Linked DNA regions of Homo sapiens: region 2 is linked to region 1. Evidence: promoter capture Hi-C in 16 types of primary human blood cells and fetal thymus (Javierre and others, 2016). All regions are on one chromosome and are shown on one strand. The core of a region is centred on a gene start or on the middle of the fragment in contact, and the rest is flanking DNA. Distances in the headings are between cores, read along the strand shown.

Evidence for each region. The method cuts DNA at HindIII sites, captures the fragments that hold promoters and counts their contacts. A CHiCAGO score of 5 or more calls a contact.
Region 2: a fragment that was not itself captured here is called in contact with the fragment with the promoter of ATP5MG in region 1 in 1 of 17 cell types (total CD8 T cells); the score reaches 6.5 in total CD8 T cells.

The regions. Positions count from the first base shown.
Region 1 is chr11:118,399,171-118,403,382 of GRCh38, reverse strand. ATP5MG (ATP synthase membrane subunit g) reads right to left here and starts at 1,777. Exons shown (of 3, transcript NM_006476.5): 1 at 1,666-1,777. The coding sequence starts at 1,717. All of the region lies in intron 3 of LOC100131626 (a long non-coding RNA gene), which reads left to right. It overlaps UBE4A (ubiquitination factor E4A), which reads right to left. Exons shown (of 20, transcript NM_001204077.2): 20 at 4,172-4,212. RefSeq lists enhancers at 4-594, 1,053-1,916, 2,037-2,116. The HindIII fragment of the contact is 3,431 bases long and covers 1,045-4,212 here.
Region 2 is chr11:119,014,506-119,019,063 of GRCh38, reverse strand. CENATAC (centrosomal AT-AC splicing factor) reads right to left here. Exons shown (of 11, transcript NM_198489.3): 9 at 3,981-4,070; 10 at 3,625-3,757; 11 at 3,271-3,526. The coding sequence ends at 3,466. It overlaps RPS25 (ribosomal protein S25), which reads left to right and starts at 721. Exons shown (of 5, transcript NM_001028.3): 1 at 721-782; 2 at 1,011-1,106; 3 at 1,519-1,702; 4 at 3,125-3,223; 5 at 3,306-3,347. The coding sequence starts at 780. The coding sequence ends at 3,219. It overlaps TRAPPC4 (trafficking protein particle complex subunit 4), which reads right to left and starts at 298. Exons shown (of 5, transcript NM_016146.6): 1 at 94-298. The coding sequence starts at 268. RefSeq lists enhancers at 1-425, 680-909, 930-999 and a silencer at 320-439. The HindIII fragment of the contact is 2,482 bases long and covers 790-3,271 here.

The sequences.
Region 1 (4,212 bases), core at 528-3,027:
CTGCGATTACAGACATGCACCACCAAGCCTGCCTAATTTTTGTATTTTTTGTAGAGATGGGGTTTCACTATGTTGGCCAGGCTGGTCTCGAACTCCTGCCCTCAAGTGATCTGCCCGCCTTGGCCTCCCAAAGTGCTGAGATTACAGGCGTAAGCTACCGCCGCAGGGCCATCTCTTTTGATTTATATAAAATTGTAGAGCTCTATGACAGGTATCTTAACAATCTTAGTAAAGTAAAAGATTTTCTTGCAAGCTTATGAAATTATTTGGGAAAATGTGTAAAATGTTTCACTAGTAGGCTGTGAGGTTCTGCAGGACAGCCTTCAATAACTCATAGTTTGGCTGGTGATGGAGGGAAGGGAGGAGAGAATGGATAAATTACCCGGCTGGCGCTGTGGCTCACACCTGTAACTCTGGCACTTTAGGAGACCGAGGCGGGAGGATCCCTTGAGCCCAGGAGTTAAGAGACTAGCCTGGGCAACATGGTGAAATCCCGTCTCTTAAAACATACAAAAATTAGCTGGGTGTGGTGGTGCGTGCCTGTGATCCCAGCTACTCAGGAGGCTGAGGTGGGAGGATCGCTTGAGCCTAGGAGGTGGAGGCTGCAGTGAGCTGTGATCTGCACTGCACTCCAGCCTGGGCGACAGAGTGAGTCCCTGTCTTCTAGGAAAAAAAAAAAAAAAAAAGAAAGAAAGAAAAAGAAAATACCCAAACCAAACTCAAACACAGCAAAATAGGCTAGAAAGTATTACATTTTTTTTGAAGTTCTGCTTTCTATTCACATTTCATAAACGTAGGCAAAAGTTAAGAGATCCGACCTTCAGTCACTTACTGGAATACAGCACATCTAGGAAAAACTTACGTCAATTTAGCTTATCTCACTTCAGGAATAAAATGAATAGCTTGCCACTGAGAAGACAACTGAAATATTTACTGGCCAAATAAACTAGTACTCAGAGGCTGTGATTATTCAGGGTTGTTGTGAAATACAGCGGTCTACCAGTGAGGCTCTTCAAGCTGAAAAAATTCCACGAATGCTAAGCTTCGTAACAAAGATTATTGTTTATACGGATCCCGTCCTATGCTTCTCGGGGCATGGATACTCATCCATGAAGTCCATTTCCACCTAAAATTTCCCTCGGATTAAAGCGGAAGTATCTTAGAATCCGTCTAGGACAGAAAGCAAAGTCAACGTTCAAAAAAGCTCACCCATCCTTAAACATTTCTGTTGACTTCCAAATACTCCACTGAGAACAACACCACATGTAATGAGGCCGAATTGATTTACTTTCACGTTTCTGCCCTTCCTTTTCTTAGCTCTCCTAACAGAACCATCCCCTCTAGATCCCTGCTCTTAGCGATCTCAGGGGGCGTAATGGTTGCAGCTGCCGGGCAACGCCGGGCTTCCTTCACACTACCTCTCTTCCCAGTCGTGGTTAGAATTCAGGAACTTCTAGGTTGTGTAGAGAACCCAATCTGCAGGTCAGACGAGTGGAAGGCTAGAAAAGAGTCGCCAACCTGCTTCCTGCTCCCTCCACCTGCAGGCCATCCCGCCCCGGCACCCGCAGGCCCCTCGGGTCTTCGCAGCCCGCTTCTTCCTCTCAGGCCATCGCAGGCCTCCCTGCCGCCCGTGTGCCCGCCTCGGCGGTCTCACATCGCGCTCACCGTTCACCAGCGCCGGGGTCTTCTCCACAAGGTTACGGACAAATTGGGCCATGGTTCTGGAATGGAGAGTCCGTCGCCCCGAACCGCCGGCTGAATGTCACCCGCCGGAAGGACCCGCTGCAGGACCCCGTCCCACTTCCAAGGTCAGGCCGCCTCTTTTCGCGCCGGTCGAAGATACTTAAATGTCCAAAGATCTTTGCAGAATCCAGCCTGTCAATTTAATTTTTCAACATGGAAGAGAAAGTGGATATGAAAAGATGGTATTAGAGAGCATGTGAAGAACAGTAGGATTCCGCAGAGAAGCAGGCATTTTGTGGGGCAGCCACTCGTAGAGGTCCGGAAAACCGGCAAGGAGCGGAAATGCGCATGCGCCCTGAACCTGCAGTGCTTTTCTTGGCGCCGACCTCCGCTATTTTGCGTAGGGTGCTTTCGCCGCGATTCTGAGAACCTTTGAAGTCAGTACTGGAGAAGGATTCGCTGAGATTCTTCTAGTCCAACACGATCGTTGTACAGAGGTAGAGAGGGTCCAAGGCCAAACATATAAAGTTAGGGGCCGAGCAATCACCACACAGGCTGTCACCAGGCTCAACCCATAGCCCTTTTTATTTGAGACAGTCTCGCTCTGTCGCCCAGGCTGAAGTGCAGTGGCACGACTTCGGCTCACTGCAACCTCTGTCCCCCGGGTTCCAGCGATTGTTGTGCCTCAGTCTCCCTAGTAGATGGGACTACAGGCGCCCGCCACCACGCCTGGCTAATTTTTGTACTTTTAGTAGAGACGGTGTTTCACCATGTTGGCCAGGCTGGTCTCGAACTCCTAGCTTCAAGTGATCCACCCGCCTTGGTGCTGGGATTACAGGCGTGAATCACCGCGCCTGGCCCCATAGCCCTTTTAAAGTTGATTTTTTGTAATCCCAATCTCCCCAAAGTGCTGTATCACGATTGGAATCCATTTCCCCTAATTCCCTAGTTAACCACAAGGAGCTGTGCAGATGTGAGGAAAAAATCACCTGTATTGAACGCCCACACTATGCCAGGCATTTTGGAATTTAAAGAAAGCCTGTAAGGCATTGTCCCCATTGAGACTGGGCTTGAAAAATGGCCACACAGTTTGGAAGTGGCAGAGTTGAGATCTGAAGTTGCAATGTATACTCAGAGAGGGGGCATTCCATCAGATTAGGCATGGTGCTGATTTCAGCATACTTCCTAGAAAAGATCCTTGAGCCGATGTGTAAGAGAACAGCTGTATACTACAGAGGGCTGAAACTTCATAGTTTAATATGAGGAGGAAAAGATGTATGTAGGGAAGTGGCATTTGATGAGAGGAACAGAACTATAAGTAATGTAACCTGGGGAAGTCTGAGCAGAAGTAAATCTCCGATTTTTGGAATGGTTAGAGAGATGGAAAGAAAAATTAGAAGTGTAATCAAGGAACTAAGAACTTTTCAATGAAGGAGTGATTCTGCTGCCCTAGATACTGCAGAAAAGTCAAATTAAGGATGGGAAAGTTAATTTAGCAATATGGCAATCTTTAACTAACTAGCGCCTTTTCAAAAAATTAGGATAGAATCCAGGGTGAATGGTGAAGAAATATGGCTGTAAAGGATTACAAGTCAGAAAACCAAAGGGGGATGTGGAACTCAGGGGAGAAATTGAAGACAGAGAAGAGGCAGTCATTTATTTATTTAGAGATGGGGTCTTGCCACATTGCCCAGGCTGGCCTGAAACTCCTGGCCTCAAGAGATCATCCCACTTCAGCCTCTTGCTTAGCTCTGGGATTACAGGCACAGGCCATCCTGCCTGATAAAAAGGGATATTGACAAGAGCCCTGATGAGGCAGGAAAAGAGAACTAGCCAGGGATCTATGGGGCCTTTTCCACAGATGTGATTATGGGAGAGAGGTCTGAAAGTCTTCAAAGTCTCTGAAGTCTTTATCTTCCCAGCAAAATGAAGGCAAAGTCATCGGACTGTGAGGGGTCAATGGGAGGGGGGTATGAGAAGGAATTTGAGGAAGGAGGCCAAAGTTTGGAATAGCTGAAGGACACACAGAAGGGTTGTTGGGCAACGTTAGAGATAAGTTTGTGGTTGTACCATTCTAAAAATTGTGTTTTTCCTCCAACAATGGTCTGCAGTTTGGATATTACAGCAGAGGGGAATGGCTGAGTTAATCTAGGCTGACATCTTGCATGGCAGGGGTATGGAAACAAGGAGCAAGAAAGGGGAAGATAACAGCAAATGATTACAAAGACCTGGGGTTCAGGCCAGATAAAGAAAAACAGTGAAGCCAAAAGAGAGCTGGTTAGGAAAACCATACTGTGAGATTCATCTCCTGAGGGTAACCCCAGGGTCCCCTCCAGAGGCCTGGTAAGGCAGGCTGGGTCAGCCAGGTCACACATATTTGATGTTACTTACCTAAAAAAAAAGTGAAACGTCAGAATCCTCTAAGTTTTCAGGGGGATTTCTGAAACTGCCACTAGCTTTTAATACTGGAATAAAGTGATAACAAAGGTTGTAAGTCAGATGTTCATTTATTAAATACAAGTTTTGAAC
Region 2 (4,558 bases), core at 781-3,280, 620 kb before region 1:
TTTTCCCCCAACCCCGCACCTACAACCAGCCCACTTCTACAGCACTGGGGCCCTCCCACCCCCGCACCCGCCACGGGCCCGAGCCTAGCCCACCTCGGATGCCGTCCCGCTGGCCGAAAGCAACCAACACACGCTCATCGTGTAGCTTGAGCAGCAGATCCAGCGGATAACTGAAAGTTTTCTCAGCCTCAGCCCGTGGCGCGTAGCTGTCCAACTGGTAAATCAAGCCGCCAGCTTTGTTCACCACATACACACTAAAAATCGCCATCGCTGCCTTGCCGCTCGGAAACTGGTATTCAGCCTCTACCCGACGGCCCCTCCCCGGAACCGCATCACAGCACTTGCCGCCGGCCCCACCCCAGCCTCCTCCTCCTCCTCCTCCTCCTCCCGCGCCCCCCGTGCAGCCACCTGCTGCACTTGCGCACTGGGAGCGACACGCTCGGGCATAAGTAGTGCCGGAAAGTTAGCTGCCGAGACCTGGTGGATTGCTTTTCGTTTATCAGTGCAGGAAAACAGCGCTATAGTATGCGTCACAACTAGCGCAGACTCCGGCAGTATTTAGGCGGTGCGGCTTGGGAACTAGAATCCACTTCCTGTCTTCCGCCTCAGGCTAGAGGGCGAGCGCTTCGCCGTGGGACTTCTTCTGCCTGGCTCCGCCTTTTGCCCCGGAAGTACTCACAGCGGACGGTGGTTTTTGGGCCCGTTTCTGAGCAGCGCTTCCTTTTTGTCCGACATCTTGACGAGGCTGCGGTGTCTGCTGCTATTCTCCGAGCTTCGCAATGGTAAGCTTCAGGGGTGTGAAGTCGCCGGCGTTCTTGGGTTTGAGGACTCAGTGGGGAGAGCCTTCGGCGGGAGCGCTCCTTGGCCTGCCGGCCTCGGTTGCAGGGCGGGCGCGGTTATTGCTTGGCCCATGTGCTCTGGTGGTGGAGTTTGCGGGGGCTGAGGGCGCAGTATTAGGGGACTTTGGCGCTATTTGAGGACCTGGTTGCATTCCCGCTGCCCTCCTACAGCCGCCTAAGGACGACAAGAAGAAGAAGGACGCTGGAAAGTCGGCCAAGAAAGACAAAGACCCAGTGAACAAATCCGGGGGCAAGGCCAAAAAGAAGGTAGAAATAAGACCTCTCTGAAAGAGACTAGGGGTAACTCTCTCGTAATCCTCTAGTAATAGGTAACTTGTATAGTAAGTGGTTTTTCAGGTGTAGATTTCTAGAGTCAAAATGTGAGAGTTTATCTTCCCGTCACCACTCGTTCTTTTTCCCATTAGGATCATGAAAATGGGTCTGTTGTGCGAAGTGTCTGCCGCTGTGCCTGCTGTGTTATTTTTAACTGATCTAGTGGGGCTCGGCCCCTGTTTGAAGGCCAAAAACGTGTCGGTGTTTTTTTTTTGTTTTTGTTTTAGTAATGTGTAATTTATCCTTGATAACGGTGGAACAGATTTCTCTGACGCAGATTACTCGAGAGGGAAAGGGTGCTTCTGCCAGAAATACTAACTTGTTTCTGTTTTGTTTTGGTGAGCAGAAGTGGTCCAAAGGCAAAGTTCGGGACAAGCTCAATAACTTAGTCTTGTTTGACAAAGCTACCTATGATAAACTCTGTAAGGAAGTTCCCAACTATAAACTTATAACCCCAGCTGTGGTCTCTGAGAGACTGAAGATTCGAGGCTCCCTGGCCAGGGCAGCCCTTCAGGAGCTCCTTAGTAAAGGTGAGGGGTGTATCCTACATGTGTGTTTTTGTAGGTTAAATTGTCTTGACCATGTTAAGCATCTTCAGTGGTTTTGCTGGAAAAGCAGAATTAAAAAAAAAAAGCGTGGCTTGACCATTGGCTGTTAGTAATGTAATTCTGACGTCTTACTCCTGATCCTGAGATGAATTCTCAGGGTTCTTAGCCACTTTTGTGCCGTGGACCCTGTGGCAGTTTAGTGAAGCCCAAGGATCTTTTATGTTTCGAGTAAATGGATGCATAGAATTACAGGGACAACCGTTTTTGAAATAATTAGATTACTATTTTGAAACAACTTTGAAAATGTTTAAAACCTTTATGGTAAATATTTTGTTGATGTATTAAATTTTAAAACCAGAAATTTAGTACGGTCTACTCAGTAGTATGGTCTGATTACCATAATTCCACAATAATAAGGCTCAGCTAACTATAGTGACTGAACGTCTATAATTCTAGCACTTTGGGAGGCCAAGGCGGGTGAATCAACGGAGGTCAGGAGTTAAAGACCAGCCTGGCCAATATGGTGAAAACCTGCTCTACTGAAAGTTAGCTGGACGTGGGGGCACACGTCTGTAATCCCAGCTACTCAGGATGCTGAGGCATGAGGATCCCTTGAACCCAGGAGATGGAGGTGGCAGTGAGCCGAGATGACACCACTGCACTCCAGCCTTAGTGACAGCAAAAGACTGTCTCAGAAAGGGGGGGGGGGTGGAAGATAATGGAGCCCTAATTTAAAGGAAAAGTAAGGATAGATGATCGTTAAAAACTAGGATTCTCGGTTACCGAACGTCAGATTAAGCAATTCTGGAGCCAGGTGCAGTGGTACCCTTGTATTTCTAGCTACTTGGGAGGCCAAAGCAGGAGGATCATTTGAGCCAAGGAGTTTTAAGACCATTCTGGGCACCTCTGAGAGAACTCTGTCTTTTTGTTTTCCTTTTCTTTAAATAGAGATGCGGTTTTGCCATGTTGCCCAGGCTGGTCTCCTGGGCTCAAGAGATCCACCTGTCCAAAGTGCTGGGATTACAGGCATGAGCCTCTGCACCCGGCCAAAACAAACCTTACTAGAGTCTCATTCTGTTGCCCAGGTTGGAGTGCGGAGGGGCAGTCTTGGCTCAATGCAACCACCAATTCCTGGGTTCAGGTGGTCCTCACCTCAGCTTCCCAAGTAGCTGGAATTACAAGCATGTGCCACCATGCCCAGCTAATTTTTGTATTTTTGGTAGAGATGGGGTTTCACCTTGTTGGCCAGGCTGGTGTGCAACTCCTTACCTCAAGCTATCTGCCCGTCTCCACCTCCCAAAGCAGTGGGATTATAAGCATGAGCCACCGCGCCCAGCCAAAAACCTTACTAGTTTCTATTGTAGCATCTGTTAAGCATCTCATCGTGCTATTCTCTCCCCCTAGGACTTATCAAACTGGTTTCAAAGCACAGAGCTCAAGTAATTTACACCAGAAATACCAAGGGTGGAGATGCTCCAGCTGCTGGTGAAGATGCATGAATAGGTGAGTAGGAATGTGTGGGCTCATGGTGTAGGAGGTAGATACAAAGCTTTATGGTTCTGATTCTTTTAATTTTTTTTTACAGGTCCAACCAGCTGTACATTTGGAAAAATAAAACTTTATTAAATCAAATGAATGAGTATGTCTGTTTCCTAAGAAAGACAATGATAAAGAATTTGGTGGAAGGTATAATAGGGGTTTGTTGACTTTGCTTTTAGCCTCATGGTAGTTGGTAGAGAGCATGATTAGCTTTTTTCTGTATGTGACTGCTTCTTCATTGCTGCAGCTTCAGTTTTGAATTGATGTCTGAAAGGAAATAAAGGGTTAACACGATGATGAAGGGTGACATCTCCAAAAAGGAGGTTGGATGGGTAGGTTGGAGACCCGGCACTGAACACACATACCTGGACTGCCAGCGGCGTCCATTATTCCAGACGCGGCCAAAAGAGGGCAGCCAGCCTGCACTGGTCCTGGAGCTGTGATCAAAGTTGGCCCCAACTCGGTCTGGGGGGAGTTTTTTCAACTTCTGTTTTTCCTCTGTACAATGATAGGGAAACTTTTATTTTTCTTTATTGAAGAATATAGAGATGGGGTCTCACTATGTTGTCCAGGCTGTTTTCAAACTTCTGGGCTCAAGTGACCCTCCCACCTCAGCCTCCCAAAATGCTAGGATTATAGCCATGAGCCACCACACACAGGCAAGGAAACCATTTTTGAGTGTGAAGATTTAGACGATCCTCTCTTGAATTAGTTTACTTACTTTCTTTAAGAAATTCTTCATAGGATGGTCCTATTTCTTGGTTCCCAGCAATGTATTCTTCATCTTGGATCATCCAGGGAGGTGTGGCACCTGAAAAAAAAATTAAGGCTTTTTTTTTTTTTTTTAAGTCTTCAGGCTATTGTGAAACATGTCCTAGCTGTTAGCTTACCTCTCCTCATTAAGAGCTAGAAATGTCTAAAAGCAAAGCCCAGGAATTCTGGAGCTTTAGAAGGCCCTAGGCTAATTTAAAGCGACATACCCCATATGTGACAGTCATTTTAAAATGGCTTTGAGGCACAACTGACATAAACGATACACACTTAAATTTGGTGACTTTTGAGCGAAGCCATTACAATCTAGACCCCAAACATCCCCCTGTAAGTATCACTGCCCCCATTAAAATATTTTCATGTCCAGGCAATCGGTGATCTTTCAGTTGCTTTATTGGTTTGTATTTTTTAGGATTTTCTGTGTGTGGACATTGAGGTGGGGTCTGGCCTTTTGTTTTTTTGAGAGGAGTCTCGCTCTAGCCCAGGCTGGACACAATCTCAGCTCACTGCAACCTCCGCCTCCCAGGT